3 separate regions of the Homo sapiens genome follow, and regions 2 and 3 are each linked to region 1. The links are contacts of gene promoters, found by promoter capture Hi-C in blood cells and fetal thymus (Javierre and others, 2016). All regions are on one chromosome and are shown on one strand. The core of a region is centred on a gene start or on the middle of the fragment in contact, and the rest is flanking DNA. Distances in the headings are between cores, read along the strand shown.

What was found. The method cuts DNA at HindIII sites, captures the fragments that hold promoters and counts their contacts. A CHiCAGO score of 5 or more calls a contact.
Region 2: a fragment that was not itself captured here is called in contact with the fragment with the promoter of RTN4RL2 in region 1 in 1 of 17 cell types (non-activated CD4 T cells); the score reaches 5.9 in non-activated CD4 T cells.
Region 3: a contact is called between a fragment that was not itself captured here and the fragment with the promoter of RTN4RL2 in region 1, in 1 of 17 cell types (M0 macrophages). The highest score is 5.3, in M0 macrophages.

Annotation. Positions count from the first base shown.
Region 1 is chr11:57,459,212-57,461,852 of GRCh38, reverse strand. RTN4RL2 (reticulon 4 receptor like 2) reads right to left here and starts at 1,325. Exons shown (of 3, transcript NM_178570.3): 1 at 957-1,325. The coding sequence starts at 987. RefSeq lists silencers at 1,049-1,318, 2,418-2,477. The HindIII fragment of the contact is 14,932 bases long and covers 1-2,641 here.
Region 2 is chr11:58,595,927-58,598,567 of GRCh38, reverse strand. The region is part of intron 2 of ZFP91 (ZFP91 zinc finger protein, atypical E3 ubiquitin ligase); the gene reads right to left. The region is part of intron 2 of ZFP91-CNTF (ZFP91-CNTF readthrough (NMD candidate)); the gene reads right to left. Among named protein-coding and RNA genes, the nearest start is that of ZFP91-CNTF, 18 kb to the right of the region's middle. The HindIII fragment of the contact is 2,384 bases long and covers 127-2,510 here.
Region 3 is chr11:58,572,991-58,575,631 of GRCh38, reverse strand. All of the region lies in intron 1 of LPXN (leupaxin), which reads left to right. Among named protein-coding and RNA genes, the nearest start is that of LPXN, 1.5 kb to the left of the region's middle. The HindIII fragment of the contact is 1,781 bases long and covers 427-2,207 here.

The sequences.
Region 1 (2,641 bases), core at 76-2,575:
AGCCCCTCTCCCATCCATGGTTCCCTGTCTCCAACCCTCTTCGCCGGTTCCTGATACCCCTTCTCTAGTCACCATCCCCATCCTTCTCTGGTTTCTGATCTTTCCATTCTCCTTTTCCATTCCAGTCCCCAGGGTCCCAGTCCTGATTCTCTTTCCCGCTACCTCCATCCCAGGATTCTGGGTCCCTGTCCATAGTCTTCTTCCCATCCCTCCCCTGATCTGGTCTTTCCTCTCCTTCCCTCTTCCTTGGTCTTCACCTGGGTCCCACTTCCCTCCACGCTTTTCCCATCTAACCTTTATTCCTTCTCCCCCTCCCCCGCTCCATCTCCCTCCTCCTTTGAGCTTCCCTCACCACTTTCTCCATCTTTGAGTTCTCCTTCCTATCCCTCTCCCCCTGACCCCTCCCCACCCCACCCCCAGTCTCTGGCCCACACCCTTATCTGTCACTCAATCAGTAGAACTATCCTCTTTCTAGCGCCCTCCATCTCTCCTACCAGAGAGGGCCACTTGGATTTCCCTCTGCGCCTCCTACCTCCCCAGACAGCCCCCTACCCACATCTCCTGTCTTCCCAGGTGGCCAGAAAGTGCTGAGGCACCGGGCAGGAGGAGTTGCTGAGTCGGCGCTTCCCCAGCCGGCCCGAGTCCTCAGCGTCCCCCGGAGCAGGTGGAGCGGGGACAGCGGAACCTGAGCCTCCCTCCCCGCTCCGGGCCGGGTCCACCTGCCCCCTGCGTCCCACCTCGGTCACGAGCTCCTCGCACGCGCCCGCGGGCTCCCAGCCAAGTGCCCTCCTGCTGAGAACAGCCCTGGCGGCGGGGGCGCGGCCCCAGCGCTGAGCTTTTCCCCTTCCCCAGGTTACCCCACCTCCCCAACTGCCCCACCCTCAATCCCTGAAAGAGGGGACGCCCTGCTTCTCTCCCCAGGATGCCCTCCGCTCTCCCGCCGCTGGCGTTCTTACCTTGCAGCAGGCGCCTGAGCCCGGGCAGCATCTTGTCTCGATGCTCGGGGGAGGGGGCAGCGGGGGGAGGGCGCTCCCACTCGCTCCCTGAGCCCGCCGGATGCACGGCGGGGACCCCGCGGGGCTCCGGGAGGGCCCGGGAGTCCCCGGGCTGCGTGGCCGGGCCGCGGCGCTCTACCCTGCGCCGCCCGGGCTGCGGGCCTCGGGAGGAGCCATCGGCCCCGACGGGACGGGGCGGGGCGCGACGGGGCGGGGAAGGCTGGGGCTGGCCGTCGACGCCCAGCGCCCGCGCCCCGCTAGCTGCGCTGTCCGCTCGAGAGTCCGTCAGTCCGTCTGTCCGTGTGCCCAGGCTGCTAGCCGAGGGAGAGTGGGGACAGCGAGGAAGCTCTTCCCAACCACCCCCACTCCTTCCCGCACTCGCTGGCTCCTCCCTCGTTTGCTGGCTTGCCGACTTAACCCTTTCTCGACCACTAGGAGGCGGGAGCGGCTTTCTAACCCCCTCCACCCCGCCCCCCTCCCCCCCGCTTAAGCGACCCGGAGGACTGTGTTCGATCGTCCTCGCGGCGCCACTCTTCTAGAGAAATCCCTTCTTGGGGGAATGCGGTAGTTTAGAGGAACGCCGTGGACTTGTCCTGTTCCCCCCTCCCAACTTTCCAGGAGAAGATGAGCTTCTGGGTCACCCCCTCCCCCGCCCCCAGCCGCGTCCCTCGCGCCAGTGTCCCAGCCTCCAGCATTTCTGTCCCCTGGGACAGCTCCAAGATTCCACTTTTCCTTCCACTCCCAGACCTCAAGCCCAGTGTGCGACTATAAGAATAGTATATGCAAGAGTTTGTGCGTGCAAGATCGAGTGCATATGAGCGTGCACGTGCGCGCAAGGATGCTTGTGCAGGTGTGACTCAGGATGCTTGCCCGTTACCCTTTGTACGGGCTTGGGGAAGCGGGGGGGGGGGCACGTGAGTGTGCACACGGGTGAGCCGCTGAAAGTCCGCCAGCGTGCATGTCTGAGCTGGTGGGAAACGTGAGGCTGTGCGAGGTTTTGCGCTTGCGATCTTGGGGATGGGTGGAAAGAAATATGTGCCCGGTGTGTGTATGCCCCTTAGTGCATTTACAAGCGGGTGCGAGATGGGCGCGCGTGCGAGTGTGTGCGTTTTTTTGTGTATGTATGATGTGTCCGGGAGGGGAGACCTTATCTCCCGCGGGGGTGCAGGAGAGGACCCAAAGCTGGGGAGAAGACTGTTGGCTTCGCGTGAACTTCCTCTACCCCCTTTTAAAGAGGGGCGGATTATGGTCTCACTGGAGCCCCTCTGGCCCTTCATGGCCTGGTCACAGGCGGTATCAGCAGACCCATCACCTAGGCACTTCCCTACAAAGGCTGCAGGGCGGTTGACCCAGGTCTTGACTCGGCCCGGCGCGTCCGCGGAGCCGCCCCGGCGTAGGATAGGCTCGGGGCCCTCGGGGGAGCCGCTTCGGGTACGGTGGCCAGGCAGCGCTGGCGGGGTTGGGGCTGCTGGAGCCTCAGGTGCGGCGGTGCCGGGGCTGCTGAGCCCCCTGGGCTGCCGCTCCCGCGAGCACAGAAGCCCCTCGCCCCGCTGCCCGCGCCGCGGCTCCTCCTTTCCTATCCGTGCCAGGGTCCAATGCAGTGCCTGGCATACAGTCGGCTCTTGATAAATGTTGGTCTTATTCTT
Region 2 (2,641 bases), core at 69-2,568, 1.1 Mb before region 1:
ATAAATAATAAGAGAAAAAAGCCATACTAGCTTGGGTAAAGGAAGACATCATACTAGTCACTGCATGAGCAACATGCAGGCACAGTGAATATAACTACAGTTAGTTAACCCTTGAACAACAAAGCTTTGAACTGCATGGATCCATTCATACGCCAGTTTTTTAAAATATGTAAGAAAATTTTTTGGAGATTTGTGACAATTTGAAAAAACTTGCAGACAAACTGTGTAGCCTAGAAATATTGAAAAATTAAGTTATGTCATGAATGCATAAACTATAGATACCACTCTATTTGATGACATTACTGTAAAATATACACAAATATAAAAAGTTAAAATTCAACAAAACTTACACACACAAAGTCTTAGACTATATATGGTATCATCCAAAGTCCAGAGAAATGTAAAGAAACGTAAAGATGTACTAATGAATAACTGCATAAAATTAACTCCGTACATAATAATTTCATAGCTATCTCCTGTTGCTATTGCAGCAAGCTCAGCTGTTTCAAGTATCTGCTTAAAATGTCATGAGGATAATCATCACCACCTGAGTGAATTTACTGTCACAGTAGAAGTGGTATCTCTCAGTTAACTCATTTTTCACTATGTTTAGAGCAATACCTGAAACCTTGACTAACACTACGGGACCCATAAGAGTTGCCACTAGTGATACTGGAAGTGCTTCCAAGAAGCAGAGAAAAGTCACGGTATTACAAGAAAAAGTTGAATTGCTTAATAAGCATAGAAGGTTGAGGTGTGTAGCTGCAGTTGCTCACCATTTTAAGATAAATGAATCCAACATAAAAAGTATTGAAGAAAAGGAAATTTGTGAAGCCACTGCTGCACCTACAGTAGCAGGTGCAAAAATCTTGCAGTTTTTGCAAAATACTTTTATCTCACATTCAAGATGCAGCTTTTATGTGGGTACAGAATTGCTATAAGAAAGGCATACCTACAGACTCTAAGTAAACTCATTATATGACAACTTAAAGCAAAAGAAAGGTGAAGAAAGAATTTAATGTCAGCAAAGAATGGTTTGATAATTTCAGAAAGAGATTTGGCTTTAAAAATGTCAAGATAATAGGAGAAACAGCTTCTACTGACCAAGAGGCAGCAGACAAGTTCCCAGGCACTGTTAAGAAAACAGCTGAGGAAGGATATCTGCCTAAGTTTTTAATGCAACTACCCCAGTCCAGAAAAAAATGCCACAAGAGACATTTATTATATTAGTAAGGTGGGGAAGTAAGCAACAAGATTTAAAGCAGGAAAGGATAGGCTAACTCCACTGTTTTGTGTAAAAGCAGTTAGGTTTATGATCAGGGCTGCCCTTATCTATAAAGCTACTAACTCCTGAGCCTCGAAGAGAAAAACTAACAATCTTTTGGTGGTACAACAAAAAGGTCAGGAAAACAAGAACTAATTTTCTAGACTGGTTCCATTGATGCTTTGCCCCTGAAGTAAAAAAGTACCTTGCCAGTTAGGGACTGCCTTTTATGGTTCTTTTGATATTGGACAATGCCCCTGGTTACCTCATGAATTTAACATCAAAGGTGTTGAAGTGGTCTACTTGCCCCCCAAACACAATGTCTCTAATTCACCTTCCCAATCAGCGGGTCATAAGAATCTTTAAGTCTCATTACACGATATTCTATGGAAAAGGACTGTTAACTCCATGTAAGAAAATCCCAATAGAGAGAACATCATGAAAGTCAGGAAGGATTACACCACTGAAGATGCCATCGTTATAGAAAATTCCTGCTGGAGAAAATTGTGTCCAGATGTTGTGCATGACTTCACAGGATTTATGGCAGAGCCAATCAAGGAAATCATGAAAGAGATTGTGAATATGGCAAAAAAAAAAAAAAGGTGGTGGTGGGGTGGTGATGGTGAAGCCTTTAAAAATAAGCATCTTGGATAAATTCAGGTGCAAACAGACACCACACAAGAGGAAGTAACAAGATGACATGATGAAGATGAGTGCTTTTGAACAGGGGCCAGACGATCAGAAAGACAACATATAAGCAGCAATGCCAGAAAACAAACTAACATTAAAAACTTAGAAATTCTGGCAGAAAGGTTCCAATTATTCAAGACTGCTTTTGACTTCCTTTTATGACAGGAACCCTTCTATGATATCTGCCCTGAAACTAAAGCAAATGGTTAAAGTGTAGAAACATTTGTAGAGAAACGAAAAAGCAAAAAAGAAGTCAGGCAGAAATTGTATTTCTGTAAAGCTACGCCAAATGTTCCTGCCACTCCTTCTACCTCTGTCACCCCCTGAGATAAGAGTAACGATTCTTCTTCTTCCTCCTCCTTAGCCTACTCAATGTGAAGAAGAGGACAAAGACCTTATAACGATCCACTTACACTTAATGAATAGTAAATATATTCTCTTCCTTATGGTTTTTTTAAATAAATTTTCTTCTCTCCAGATTATTTTACTGTAAGAATACAGGATATAATACACATATAAAATATGAATTAGTTGACTTTATGTTATTGATAAAGCTTCTGGTCAACAGCAGGCTATTAGTAAAGTTTCTGGGAAGTTAAATGCAGGTTTTTGTTTGTGAGGGGGAGGTGGTGCCCCTAACCCTACCATGTTGTTCAAGGGCCAACTGTACATTCTTGAAAGAAGGTA
Region 3 (2,641 bases), core at 68-2,567, 1.1 Mb before region 1:
TCCTCAGCCCTGCCAAGAGTGAAGCATGAGGAACTATGATTGTTTTGGGGAACTATGGGTTCACTGTTTGCAGTGGCAAAATAGATGGAGAGTTTGGTGCTAACCGCGGAATAAACTCTTGGCAAATACTTTTGGACTGGATTGTTACTGCAGTTGTTGTCTTGTTATGGGCGTTTTGCCCTTTGGAGGTCACTGGAGATCAAGGGTGGCCACATAGCGAGACAATGCAGAGATATGATTTGAGGAGGAAAAGAAAGAGCAAAAAGGGAATTGGGGTGTTATGAGGAAGAAAAGACGGACTAGAAGTATAAGAATGAGGGATCTGTAGAGGTTGGAAAAAGGCCAGAGTGGTTTCATTTGTTCCATGTTTTAGTATTAAATCAAGAAGGCATAGCACTCTAACTCTAGTGATTTTGTTGCTAAGCTTTTTATTCAGAAGAATTCTGAAGGAAGAGATTACTAGGGCCTGAAAATATGACACCTCCTTCCACTCTAAGACAATTAAAACCAGCAGTGGAACTATTAACCATATTAACCAGAGAAATCCTGGATTTCAAACCTTTGGAGTAATGTAAGGTTTGTCATTCTTGGGACTCATTCCATAGCCTTTGCCAACATCTGTTGCCAGCATCTTAACTAACACTGAGTCACTAAACTATACCCAATTTCCAAACTGTATTAATTCCACAGTGTCCTGGTTTGGGGTGTGTTTGGGGATAGGGTATGTCAAAAGTGCAAAAAACAACAACAAAAAATATCTTGCACATTGTTACATTGTCTTAAAAAAAATGGCGTGTGATTTCAAAGCTGGAGAAACAGAGGAAAAGTAAAGGGCAAATTACCAGGAGGCAAGAGATGTTAATGAAGAGAAAAAGGTAGTGTTTAATAAATATCAAACTGCTTTGGAGGTAAAGTCTATTTTGATATTGGGCCAGACTCTTTTTTGGACTTGGGGTAGAATTCTATTTCTTATCCTACGTGAGTGCTGGGAGAATGTGAATTTCTGCTTGAGTTCTAGTAGTGCTAGGGCCTTTTTTCTTTTTCTCTTTCTTTTTTTTGGGGGGGATGGAGGGGACACCGAAAGGCTTTCATGGCAAATAATTCAAAAGGAAACTAATACTTATTTAGTAAATCAAGCAAAAACTAGACATTTTTACATATGTTAATCATTTTAGTGTCTGCAGCAACCCTCTGAAATAGGTGTTATCCACTTCTTTTTCAGATGAGAAAACTAAGAAAAACAAAATAACTTTTTCAATGTCACTGTCGGGAACACCTGACACCAAAACTAAGCAACAAGGTGCTCTCCTATTTTAGAAGTTTATTGGTTCTGGTGTCTGTCCAATGAAGTAACCCAGATTTAACAGAAACTTATATTGTTTTGCATCTCCTGAGCAGGCTAAATGTTAGGTAAATCTTGTCTGGAAATACAGAAAGTACCAAGTAGCCTGGAAGCTAATATTTGTGCAGATTATCCAGTTGGCTACGTCTCCACAGGCTGTTGATGGCTACACTTCAACAGTTTCTTCAAATTGTCATCAGCCCAGTAACTACCCTTGAGACTTGGTGTGGATCTTTCTTCCTGCTGGCAGAGAAATGGCATCGAGGACAGGTTGGCTCAAGTGAGCAAATATTTCCTGTCTGCAGTGGTGCCTCAGAGGCTAGCAGCTTGTATACACCCAGAAGGTTTTACCTAAACCCTCATTACGTAGGCATTAGGCATGATAGATAAAGAGGAACCAGGAGCAGATTCTGCCTCCGAATGAAATCCATGCAACCCTCAGAGACTCCCAAGAGACCTCACTTTACTCCTTTCATGTTAATATTGATATTATTTCATCTCCACAGTAAAAGACTACAGAGAAGAATTATGGAGTCTTCAGTCTAGTCCCCACTTCCCCCGCCCCCACTCTCCAGGAATCCCATATTTGTCATACTGAAATTAGTCATCTTCAAATTACAAAATCTGGCAAAAGGCATAATAACCTCACAGTGTTGGTGATATGCACACTCATATGAAACAGGAAGAGAAAAGCCTATAACTCATGACCCAGAAAGAAGGGTTTTGATAACTTTGGTTAGCTGGTGCTTCTGAGGGCAACTTCCTACTCTTTGTGGTATGGTTTCTTCTCTCTTATAATCTTTATTGTAAATGGCTTTTTATTTTGAGCTCAGGAGGATCTTTGGCTTCTAGTTAGAGCAAAGCTTAGAAAATAGAAAAGAAAGGGGCTCTAGCATAATTGAAAGATGTAGAATAAAAATTCAAAATTCTCAAATTTGGTGTGGGGTCTGGCTAATAAAAATCTGAGGCAAAAAGTTTTCTTTCTTTTTCTACCTTAGTTTTCTTTTCTTTTTCTTTCTTTTCTTTTCTTTTTTTTTTTTTTTGAGACGGAGTTTTGCTCTTGTTGCCCAGGCTGGAGTGCAATGGCACGGTCTCGGCTCACCGCAACCTCTGCTTCCCAGGTTCAAGCGTTTCGCCTGCCTCAGCCTTCCTGAGTAGCTGGGATTGCAGACATGTGCCGCCATGCCTGGCTAATTTTGTGTTTTTAGTAGAGACGGGTTTTCTCCATGTTGGTCAGGCTGGTCTCGAACTCCCAACCTCAGGCGATCCGCCCGCCTCGGCCTCTCAAAGTGCTGGGAT